3 separate regions of the Homo sapiens genome follow, and all the other regions are linked to region 1. The links are contacts of gene promoters, found by promoter capture Hi-C in human tissues and cell types (Jung and others, 2019). All regions are on one chromosome and are shown on one strand. Each heading gives the region's core, a stretch centred on a gene start or on the middle of the fragment in contact. The rest is flanking DNA. Distances are from core to core; before and after follow the strand shown. Region 1 holds the start of NPR2 (natriuretic peptide receptor 2). Region 2 overlaps TLN1 (talin 1). Region 3 holds the start of FAM221B (family with sequence similarity 221 member B).

Evidence for each region. Contacts are between HindIII fragments. The study calls those that stand out against the background at their distance.
Region 2: a contact is called between a fragment that was not itself captured here and the fragment with the promoter of NPR2 in region 1, in 1 of the 25 tissues and cell types used here (neural progenitor cells).
Region 3: the fragment with the promoter of FAM221B here is called in contact with the fragment with the promoter of NPR2 in region 1 in 6 of the 25 tissues and cell types used here (IMR-90 fibroblasts, adrenal gland, bladder and 3 more).

The regions. Positions count from the first base shown.
Region 1 is chr9:35,789,778-35,792,840 of GRCh38, forward strand. It overlaps NPR2 (natriuretic peptide receptor 2), which reads left to right and starts at 1,814. Exons shown (of 22, transcript NM_003995.4): 1 at 1,814-3,063. The coding sequence starts at 2,632. It also overlaps a transcript of RGP1 not described here. The HindIII fragment of the contact is 19,498 bases long and covers 1-3,063 here.
Region 2 is chr9:35,727,457-35,730,519 of GRCh38, forward strand. The region is part of intron 1 of TLN1 (talin 1); the gene reads right to left. Among named protein-coding and RNA genes, the nearest start is that of TLN1, 3.2 kb to the right of the region's middle. RefSeq lists enhancers at 1-451, 2,847-2,906. The HindIII fragment of the contact is 3,260 bases long and covers 1-3,055 here.
Region 3 is chr9:35,827,155-35,830,217 of GRCh38, forward strand. It overlaps FAM221B (family with sequence similarity 221 member B), which reads right to left and starts at 1,578. Exons shown (of 7, transcript NM_001012446.4): 1 at 1,309-1,578. It overlaps TMEM8B (transmembrane protein 8B), which reads left to right and starts at 2,074. Exons shown (of 13, transcript NM_001042590.4): 1 at 2,074-2,801. The coding sequence starts at 2,294. RefSeq lists a silencer at 1,931-2,380 and an enhancer at 2,666-3,063. The HindIII fragment of the contact is 23,285 bases long and covers 1-3,063 here.

The DNA.
Region 1 (3,063 bases), core at 564-3,063:
TGAGTCAGCAAAATATCTATAAAGAGCCTCTCCTTGGAGACCATGAAACCTGCATTTTAATCTCTCTTTTGCAACTAAAAAGCCATGTGGGATTGGGGGAGAGGAGCAAGTAAGGACACTGCGACCTTCCTCTCTGGGATTTGGTTTTCAATTATCTTTAAATGAGAGGGCTAAACAATATATTTATATGATCCTCTTAGCCCTGCCATTCTGTAATTCTTTCAGGAATTTTGTCATTTTGGATTTGCTTGTCTCATAAAACAATGTGTAGTTGCTTAAAAATCAACTATTCTATTTGGTTGACTTGGTCTAAAGTATTTCTCATGTTGTCTCGTCATTCTTTTGACTGTTCCTTTTTTTTTTTTTTGCCTTGGCCAGATAGGACAAAATTCCTTTTCACTGCAGTATTGGGAGCCTGGAACTAGAGTTACCAACCCCTCTGCGTTAAAGAAGGAGCTGTCCTGAGGCTTCCATCTCTACTGGGCTTGAGGCAAGAACATTGTTAGGGACGGCCTGCTCTTGGCCTCTGTGCCCCAGGGATTGCAAATGCATGTTCCTCAAAGGTAAGGGCTGTATCATTCGGCTTTCTTTGTATTCACAGGTACAGCTTGTGCTAGGCAGCCGGTGTTCAATAAATATCGTGCCTAAGGATAAAGTGGCATTGTCCTTAATTTCCCCCACCAAACCACTAGGTGTCGCCTTCATCTCAGGGAAACCATGCCCGTCCTCGCCCTATACACTCCCACCCCACTCCAGGGCTCCAGGAGCGCTCTTAGCTTGTGATTTCTGGAGAAATAGCTTGAAGGGGGGAGAGAAACCGTGGCTCTTAGCGCGGGCAGAGAATGGGCTTATGTGCATGTCCTTTATGACAGTTGGAGAAAAATCCCCAAGGTCCCATAGCAGTCCCTCTCAGCCACCATGAGATCATCCCTCACAAGCTGTTCTTGGGGTCAGATTGGCACTCCAGATATGAGGGCCCTAGGGAGAGCTTCCTAAGGGAAGCTGGGAGCAAGGTGGAACCCCAGGAGAGCGTGGATGGGCTTCCACTGCGGGGAGTGTCCCGCCGGTCCGTTACAGGCTTTCCCCAGGCGCCAGCCTGCGCTGTGCAGGAGACAAAAGAAAATCGAGGCCCTGACTGAGCAGATGGTGCGGAGGAAGCCGGGCGGGCTGCGGTGGGCCTCTGAGGACACGAGGAGGGCAGGGGGCATGGAGACAGCGGGGGGCCGAGAGTTGAGTCCCAAGCAAGAAGGAGCCTCGTGGACTTTCTAAGGACTGGTGGGAAGTGTACAGCAGGGGCCCCTGGCTGCTGGAGGGGCCCGTCCAGGGAGCGGGCATGGTCCGCGGTGGAGTAAGCCGCACTGCCGTCGGGAGGGCGCTATGGTTTGCTAGGTGAGGGGGCTGGTGAGGATACCACACGTCTGGGGATCCTCGACTGCTTCCTGGAGACTGGAACCACTGAGGGACTCAGGGAGTTCAGAGGGGAGACCCAAGAAGAACGGGCTGAGCGAGGGGGAGAGGACAAACCCTGGGGTCGCTGGCGTGTGTGAGATGGAAATGGAAGGAGGGGCGGCAGGGGGACCAGGGGCGTGGGGGAGACCAGGGTAGGCCCTGAGAGTGAGGGAGCGCCCGGGAACCCTGCTGGCCGGCGAGGCCTTGGTGCGGAGCCCCCAAGTGCTCACCGGGGTGGGTTTGGGACCTGGCGGTCCCGAGCGCCCGGGTGGGGGGTGGGGGAAGGCAGCCGGCGCCGGAGGGTGGGGCCGGGAGGGAGGAGGAGAGGCAGCGGGGGAGGGGCGGGGGCGGGCGGCCTGCCCGGGGGAGTCGCACTCGGCCGCCGGCGCAGCGAGCGGAGACGGGCCGGGCCGAGGCGACCTGACCCGGACGAGCGGCGCGCGCGGGGCCCAGGCGGGGGGCGGGAGGAAGCGCCGGGCAGCGCCGGCCGCCAGGGCCCAGGAGAAGCGGAGCAGAGAGGAGCGGGGACACGGGCGGGGCCGCCGTAGCTCCGGATGGGACCAGCGCCCGGGCCCGTTAGTCCAAGCAGGAGCTCCGGGAGAATCCTTCACAGGGAGATTTACCCCTGCCTTCCCCTGCCCTCCGGCCCAGGCCTCGCTTCGCTCCCCGCCTGCCCATGATCCCAGTCCTTCCGCGGCGCGGGCACCCTCCCACCTTACCCCCTTGGTCCTATGTGGCGCAGCGCCCTCCTGCCCTCCCGGCCCTTTCAGCTGTGAGGTTCCCCCAGGCCGTTTCTTTGTACCACCCGCCCCCCACCCCCACCCCATCCCAGTCCCAGATCCCCTTTTCCTTCTCAGCTTTAGATTTATCAGGCTTCTTCACCTCGCACTGTCCCCATCCTGGCCGCAGGCCCCCTCGGTCCCTCCCTCCCCCTGCCACCCCGTTCTCAGTCCTCAGTCCTTGCCCTAGGCTGGTAGCCCACTCCTTGCCCGCCCCCCGCCTTCCTCCCATCTCCCCCTCCTCTCCCCGGCCCCCAGCACCTTCTGCATCCCAGCCTACCTAGCCTACTCCTCCTCTTCCTGGCCCTCTTCCCCAGGCTCCAGGCTGGGGGGTGCTCGCGTCTCCCCTGTAGGCCAGAGCAGCCCCAAGTTCTGGGGGCGGTGGGGCTGCTGCTTTATCCCCATGGCGCTGCCATCACTTCTGCTGTTGGTGGCAGCCCTGGCAGGTGGGGTGCGTCCTCCCGGGGCGCGGAACCTGACGCTGGCGGTGGTGCTGCCAGAACACAACCTGAGCTATGCCTGGGCCTGGCCACGGGTGGGACCCGCTGTGGCACTAGCTGTGGAGGCTCTGGGCCGGGCACTGCCCGTGGACCTGCGGTTTGTCAGCTCCGAACTGGAAGGCGCCTGCTCTGAGTACCTGGCACCGCTGAGCGCTGTGGACCTCAAGCTGTACCATGACCCCGACCTGCTGTTAGGTCCCGGTTGCGTGTACCCTGCTGCCTCTGTGGCCCGCTTTGCCTCCCACTGGCGCCTTCCCCTGCTGACTGCGGGTGCTGTGGCCTCTGGTTTTTCGGCTAAGAATGACCATTATCGTACCCTGGTTCGCACTGGCCCC
Region 2 (3,063 bases), core at 176-2,675, 63 kb before region 1:
CATTTCTGACCTTACAAGCAGTCCAGAGTCTCAAAAGAGAAGAACCACAGCTCTCTGTCTTTACTCCCCAATAAGAGAGGACCCTCCCAGTCTCCCCAGTTCCAGCTCTCTGCCCCCTCCCCACTCCTGGGGCACTTTGCCCAACCTTATTACTATCCGCTTGTGTCCCAGCTGGACAGACCTGGCTATGGGGTTGCTGACCATGAAAGAATGAGGGCTGGGCTGGTGGATCCGAGAAGCTGGAGGAGTCTGTGGAGCCAAGAAGCAGGACTGAAAGGACCCTTCACACTAAGCTGAAACTGCATGTCTCCCCCCATTTCCTCTGGACACTTAGACACCCCCTTCCTCCTCAAGCACGGAAGCCTCTGGTGAGACCCCGATAAGGGAGCTGAGTCATGCCTACCCTTACTCCCCAGCTGGTCCAGAGTGGATATTCACACAGCTACAAGAGGGTGTGTGGACGCGAAGAACTGATCAGTGAATTGTGGGTGGTGGTGGCAAAGAACAAGGCTGCTACAAGTATGAGTAGAAGCTAGCTCATTCCTCCTTTGGCCTGAGAACTTTGCTCCCTTTTCCATTGTGTTTGATGGAACAGCAACTCCCCACTGCCGTGTCCCCCTCCCAGGGAACTCCTCCTCCCTCAATACATTCCTGCGATGCATTCCAAAGAAGTTGGGCAATTGGAGGGGGGGAATGGAGGACAGGAGGTCAAATCCCAGCAAGGAATGGAATGTAAGAGTATTGGAGCTAAGAAAGTTGGGGTACTTGGAGAATATAGTCAGAGCAGATACCCACAAGGGGAATTGCAGAAAGATAGGGAGTTACAGACAGGAACAAAAGGAAAGAGCTTAAGACAGTCAGAATATAAGAGGGATGGGGGAGTAACACTCAGTCTGTTACCAAATTTGGCCTCTGAGTCCGCAACCGCTGGCAGTGGGGGAGGGCTGTGGGTGAGACTGACATATCCGGCCTCAGGCTGCTGGAGACTCATTTAGAGCTGGACTGGGCAGCTAGCTGAAGGGCTGCACAGAACTTCCCCCGGTACAGCCCCTCCATACTCAAATGCACACTCATTCTCCCCAGATGCACCCCAGCCTAGGCAGAGCTCTTTCCCACAAAGCTACCTTACTCTCTCTATACACACATTATCTCAATCACACAGCCCCCACACAGATCCCATCACGACTGCATTATCTTCTCCTAGGGAGCCCATCCTATGCACACAGCTTTTGCACAGATAACCTCCATAACAAGCACACCCGGCACCCAGTGTCTCTCCTCCCATTATGTAGACATTCTCCATTCACCCAGCAAGCATTCCTTGAGGGCCAGCTGTGGGGAAGACCCTGGGCCAAACTTTCAGTGGCTGGGGACCAAGATCAGTAAGACCTAGCCTTTGAGTTCAAAGGGCTCCCAGTCCACGAGATGAGTGAATAAGCCAAGTACAGAATCACAACGGAGGGCAGGATGTGGTAAGAGCCAAAAGGTGTGTGCTCAGAGAGATCCCTTTAGGTCAGGGAAGGGGAACCAAAAAGTCTCCATGATAAGTATCATTTGAAGCTAGAATTTTAAAAAATAGAGATAATAAAAAACAATAGTGATCTGCCATTTATTGACTATGTCACTTGCATTGTATACATAATTTCATTTAATCCTTACAGTAGGTGTCATTATTTCCATTTTTACAGATCAGAAAACAGACTCAAAGATGTTAAATACTTGTTCAAATACTTCTCCAAATAATAAGTTGTGAAGCCAGGATCCGAACCCAGGTTTCTGACTGCAAAGCCCAAGCTTTCTCCACTACGCCAGCCAGCTGGAGATGTGTCAGGGGTAGTTTTCACTCCAGGCAGAGAAATAGCATAAGCAAAGATGGAGAAGCAGTAAATCGTGGAGGAGCATTCAGGGAAGTGAGCAGGCAGGCTGTTGAAGCACAGGGGTACCTGCAAGGGAGCAGTGGTGGGGAAGTCAGGGTTAGGATGGAAAGGCAGAGGAAGACTGGAGAGGGGTATGAGGAATTTTACTTATTGGAGGACAAAAGGAAGCCAAGGGAGTCTTTGAGCAGAGAAGAGACATAACCGGAACTGGATTTTAGAAAAATAACTCTGGCAGTTACCTTGGAGATTAGTTAGAAGGACACTGTATTAGTACAAATTAAAGGTAATGAAGCCGGAGTTGGAATGGCATTGAGGAAGATGTCACTCAGAACAAGTTTGGGGAGGTAGAAATGACAGGACCTAATAACTACTAAGGTAGACAGGTTAGAGTCCCACAGCTTCCTATCATCAGCAGCCACTTTAGCGGCTGGGGCAGCTTGAGTTTAGGCGACGAATTGGGAAGAGGGGAAAGGATCAGGTTGGGCAGAGAATGTGAGGATGAGGCTGTGGTTACGGGATGTGGTTAGGCTGTGGGGAAAAAGGGTATGAGTATATGATTAGTAGCCACTAGGGGCAGATGGGGTTGGGTTAGTGACTGCATCAGGCTGGGAATGGGGAAGACAGGGTGTAGAAAAAGGATGAGAAGACAGGGTGTAGAAAAAGAATGCTGGTGATGATGGTGTTTGGAAAAATACATATACATAAGATACATATATGACCAGTCACTGCATCAGGTTGGGGGAAGGGGAATGATTACATGGATGGTGGCTAAGTCAGGGAATGATGGGGTGAGGTCAGAGGCCAGGTCAGGCTATAGGAGGTTGAGAAGAGCTGGGCCTGTGGTCAGTCACTAAATCAGACTGGGGTGGGGGTGGGAAAGTGAAGGGACATTGGCAATGTCTAAGTAAAGCTGGAGCTGGGATGGGGGATGGGGTACAGCCAGTGGCTGGGTCAGGCTGAGTAGAGGATAGTGCTGTGGTCAGTGGCAGGGTCAGGCTGGGAGTGAAGTGGGGGTGTGGTCAGTGGCCTGGCTGGGCGTGGGATCAGCAAGACCCAGTTTCCTCTTTGGGTCTCGTTTCCTCTTTTCTGTTGGGGAGTGGGGGAAGGGGATCTACAAATGGTCCAAGAAATTAAAAGAGGCTTAGATCCAGGGGGTGACACACAGCAGGGGATGGGAGTAGGGTAT
Region 3 (3,063 bases), core at 328-2,827, 37 kb after region 1:
CTTTGGGAATTATCCTAGTCTTTTCCTTTTCCCTTAGACTCCATCTTCAAATAGGCACCAATAACTCTATTTCCTATCTTCTAAATATTCCCCAAATGCATTCTCTCCTCTCCCTTCCAATTTTATTCAAGTTCTCATCATCTTCAGCCTTTGTGTAATAACTTTGCCCCTCTACTTCCATCCACAGCATTTTAATCCATTCACCCATTCTTTCATGGATTTATGTAACTTATACTTTTACAATGAGCCTAATCTGATGCTTTTACTGACCCGCTGTGCTAAGCTCTAGATTGAGTTGAGTCTAGGAGAGAGACCGATTAACCAACAATGGCAATACAAATAAATTGATGTTGTTCTGGGGTGAGTCTAGGATACGGTGGGGAGGGGGATATACCTAATTTATCCTGCAAGGATGTAGTCCTCCTTCCTGACCCAATCAGGATCTTTCTAAAGTGCAAGCCCAACAACTGGCACTTTGTGGCTTAAAAACATTCCATGACTCAGTCTAAAGGATTAAGTCCAAATTTCTTGGCCCTGGCATTCAAGGCCTGTCATCATTTTCAACACAGCCTGAGGATTCCTGCCTTAACTTTCCGTGCTCCCTACTTTACCCCCATGTTCCAGAGACGCTAGATATATCACTCCTTAAATGCATCAGAGCCTTTTTGAAGGGGATGTTTGGGAAGGGAATTAGGGGCAGAGGTAGGATTACAGGGAGGAAGATGACCAGAGTCAGCTAGAGAGAAAAGGGGCCTAAGAGTGGAGAACCAGAAGATGGGAGGTGAGGAAGGGGAAAGAGAAGGGGAGGAGGAAATTGGGTGGAGGAGGAGAGTAAGGATGAAAAGTACAGAATGTGGGCCAGGCATGGTGGCTCATGCCAGTAATCCCAGAATTTGGGAGGCCAAGGCGGGTGGATCACTTGAGGTCAGGAGTTCGAGACCAGCCTGGCCAACATGGTGAAACCCAGTCTCTACTAAAAATACAAAAATTAGCTGGGCATGGTGGCAGGCGCCTGTAGTCCCAGCTACTGGGGAGGCTGAAGCAAGCAAATCACTTGAACCTGGGAGGCGGAGGTTGCAGTGAGCCCAGATCGCACCACTGCACTCCAGCCTGGGGGACAGAGCGAGACTCTGTCTCAAACAACAACAACAACAACAACAACAACAACAACAACAACAACTACTACTACTACTACTACTACTACTACTACTACTACTACTACTACAACAATGTGAAGGGACTGAGGGGTGGGAGAAAGACAGATGTCTTTGAGGGAAGAGGGCAAGGGCCGTTGGAGAAACCACCTACCCTCTGGGCTTTGGCTTGGTTGTTACAAGTCCTTAGGTCAAGACCTTGACTTAGGATGGCAGGGGGAGGTGTTGATCCTCAGGGAGGAAAGGCTCTTGGTTGTGGATGTGCCTCAGCTGCAGGTGCTGAGTGTTGAAATGCCTTGCCTGAAAGTCTGCTATCTGGGAAGGGGACTTGGATATCTGCAGAACTTCGCAAAGGAGCTCTGGCATGACCTGGGGAAGTGGGTAGGGACAAGGGGTCTAGGGCCAATGAGGGAGGGTCTTGACTGAAGCCTCCGGAACCCGGGCCAGGAGAGTAGGCGCCGGTCACCAGGGCAACCGGAACGCCTAGTAGTCTCCGTGGCAACGGCGGTCTGGTCACCTCCCCGGTGGGTAAGGTCTCCTGAGGGGCTTGCATTGGGCCTCGAGGGGGCGAGCCCAGAGGGTTTACTTCTGAAAAGTGGGGTGTGTGTTGCGGGATCTCTGTGAGCGAGTGTTTGGGTAGGATCTGCGGAGATCTGTGCGTACGTCCGGGGGAGTCTGGGATTGTGAGGATAGGGTTCCTTTGAGACATCTGTGGGGCGGTCGTTGGGGGCTGTGAGGATCTGAGGGGACCTCGGGCTCTGTGCTTGGGGTGAGAAAGGCAGGGTCTCGGGTAGCTGAGGCGGGGGCGGAGTCTGTGTGTCCTCGAAGCCCAGCAGGACTAAGTTGGGGACCAATAGAGTAGGGCGGGGGCGGGCTTTACTGACAGGGACCAATCGAGCCGGCCGGGGGGCGGGGCGTCACGCCGACGTCAAGTCGAGGCCGCCGCCGCGGGGCCTGGTTATCGCCGGTTCAGCGCAGCCCGGAGTCGCCCAGGCCTGAACTCCTACCCAGGTCCCCGGCCCCCGCCCCGGGCCCGCGAGGACACCGGAGGCCACCCCCCGGGGGTGGGGAGCGGAGCCGCGGGCCAGCTCTGCGAGCGCCCCGCGCTGGCCTGTCCGGCCCCGCCCCCGCCCCGGGCCATGGCCCAGCCCTTGTCCCGGCCCCTCGTCCTATCCCAATCCCCGCCTTGGCCCCCAGCCCCGCCCTCGCCCCGCTTCCCACATCGGCCCCAGCCCCTGCCTGGGTCCCCATCCAGGACCCCCTTCCAGTCTCTGCCCCTGGCCTGGCCCCCATCCCGGCCTCGGCCCTCGTTCCACCCCCTGTCACAAATCCCAGCCCAGGCCCTGTCCCAGCCCCATTCCCAGTGTTTGCTTAAGGCCCTGGCTCAACCCCGTCCCTTGCTGCAGTCCCCATCACAGCCCTTCCTTCCATCCCACTCCCTGCCCTTGTTCAAGCCCCAGTGTCCAGCCCAGCCCAACCCATTATCTCAGCCTTTGCCCTCATCTCTGTGTTTACCCAAGTCTCTCCCTCTAGTCCCCCCTATCTCTCATACTCTGCCCCTCTCCCAGCCTAGACTCAAGTCTGGGTTTCAGCTGCCGCCAGCCCTATTGCTGCTGTTGCTGTTCTCTGTCCTTGGCCCAGGGGCTGGTGAGTGCAGAAGCAGGGAAGATTGAGGCAGGAATGGGGTTCCGGCAGGGAGGGGTGGGCTGGAGAGATTCAGGAGAGGTGGGACCTGGGGAACTAGATCATTGGGGAGCAAGTGGGAGAAATAGAGAGTAGAGAGGTCTTACACAACAGGGATTGGCAGGGTCAAAAGAGTGGTAATTAATTGGGTTTGAGGCTCAGCAGGTGGCTTACAGTTTCTAGCACAGAGACTCCAAGATTTTTTCTGGTGTCTGTCCTGACCCCA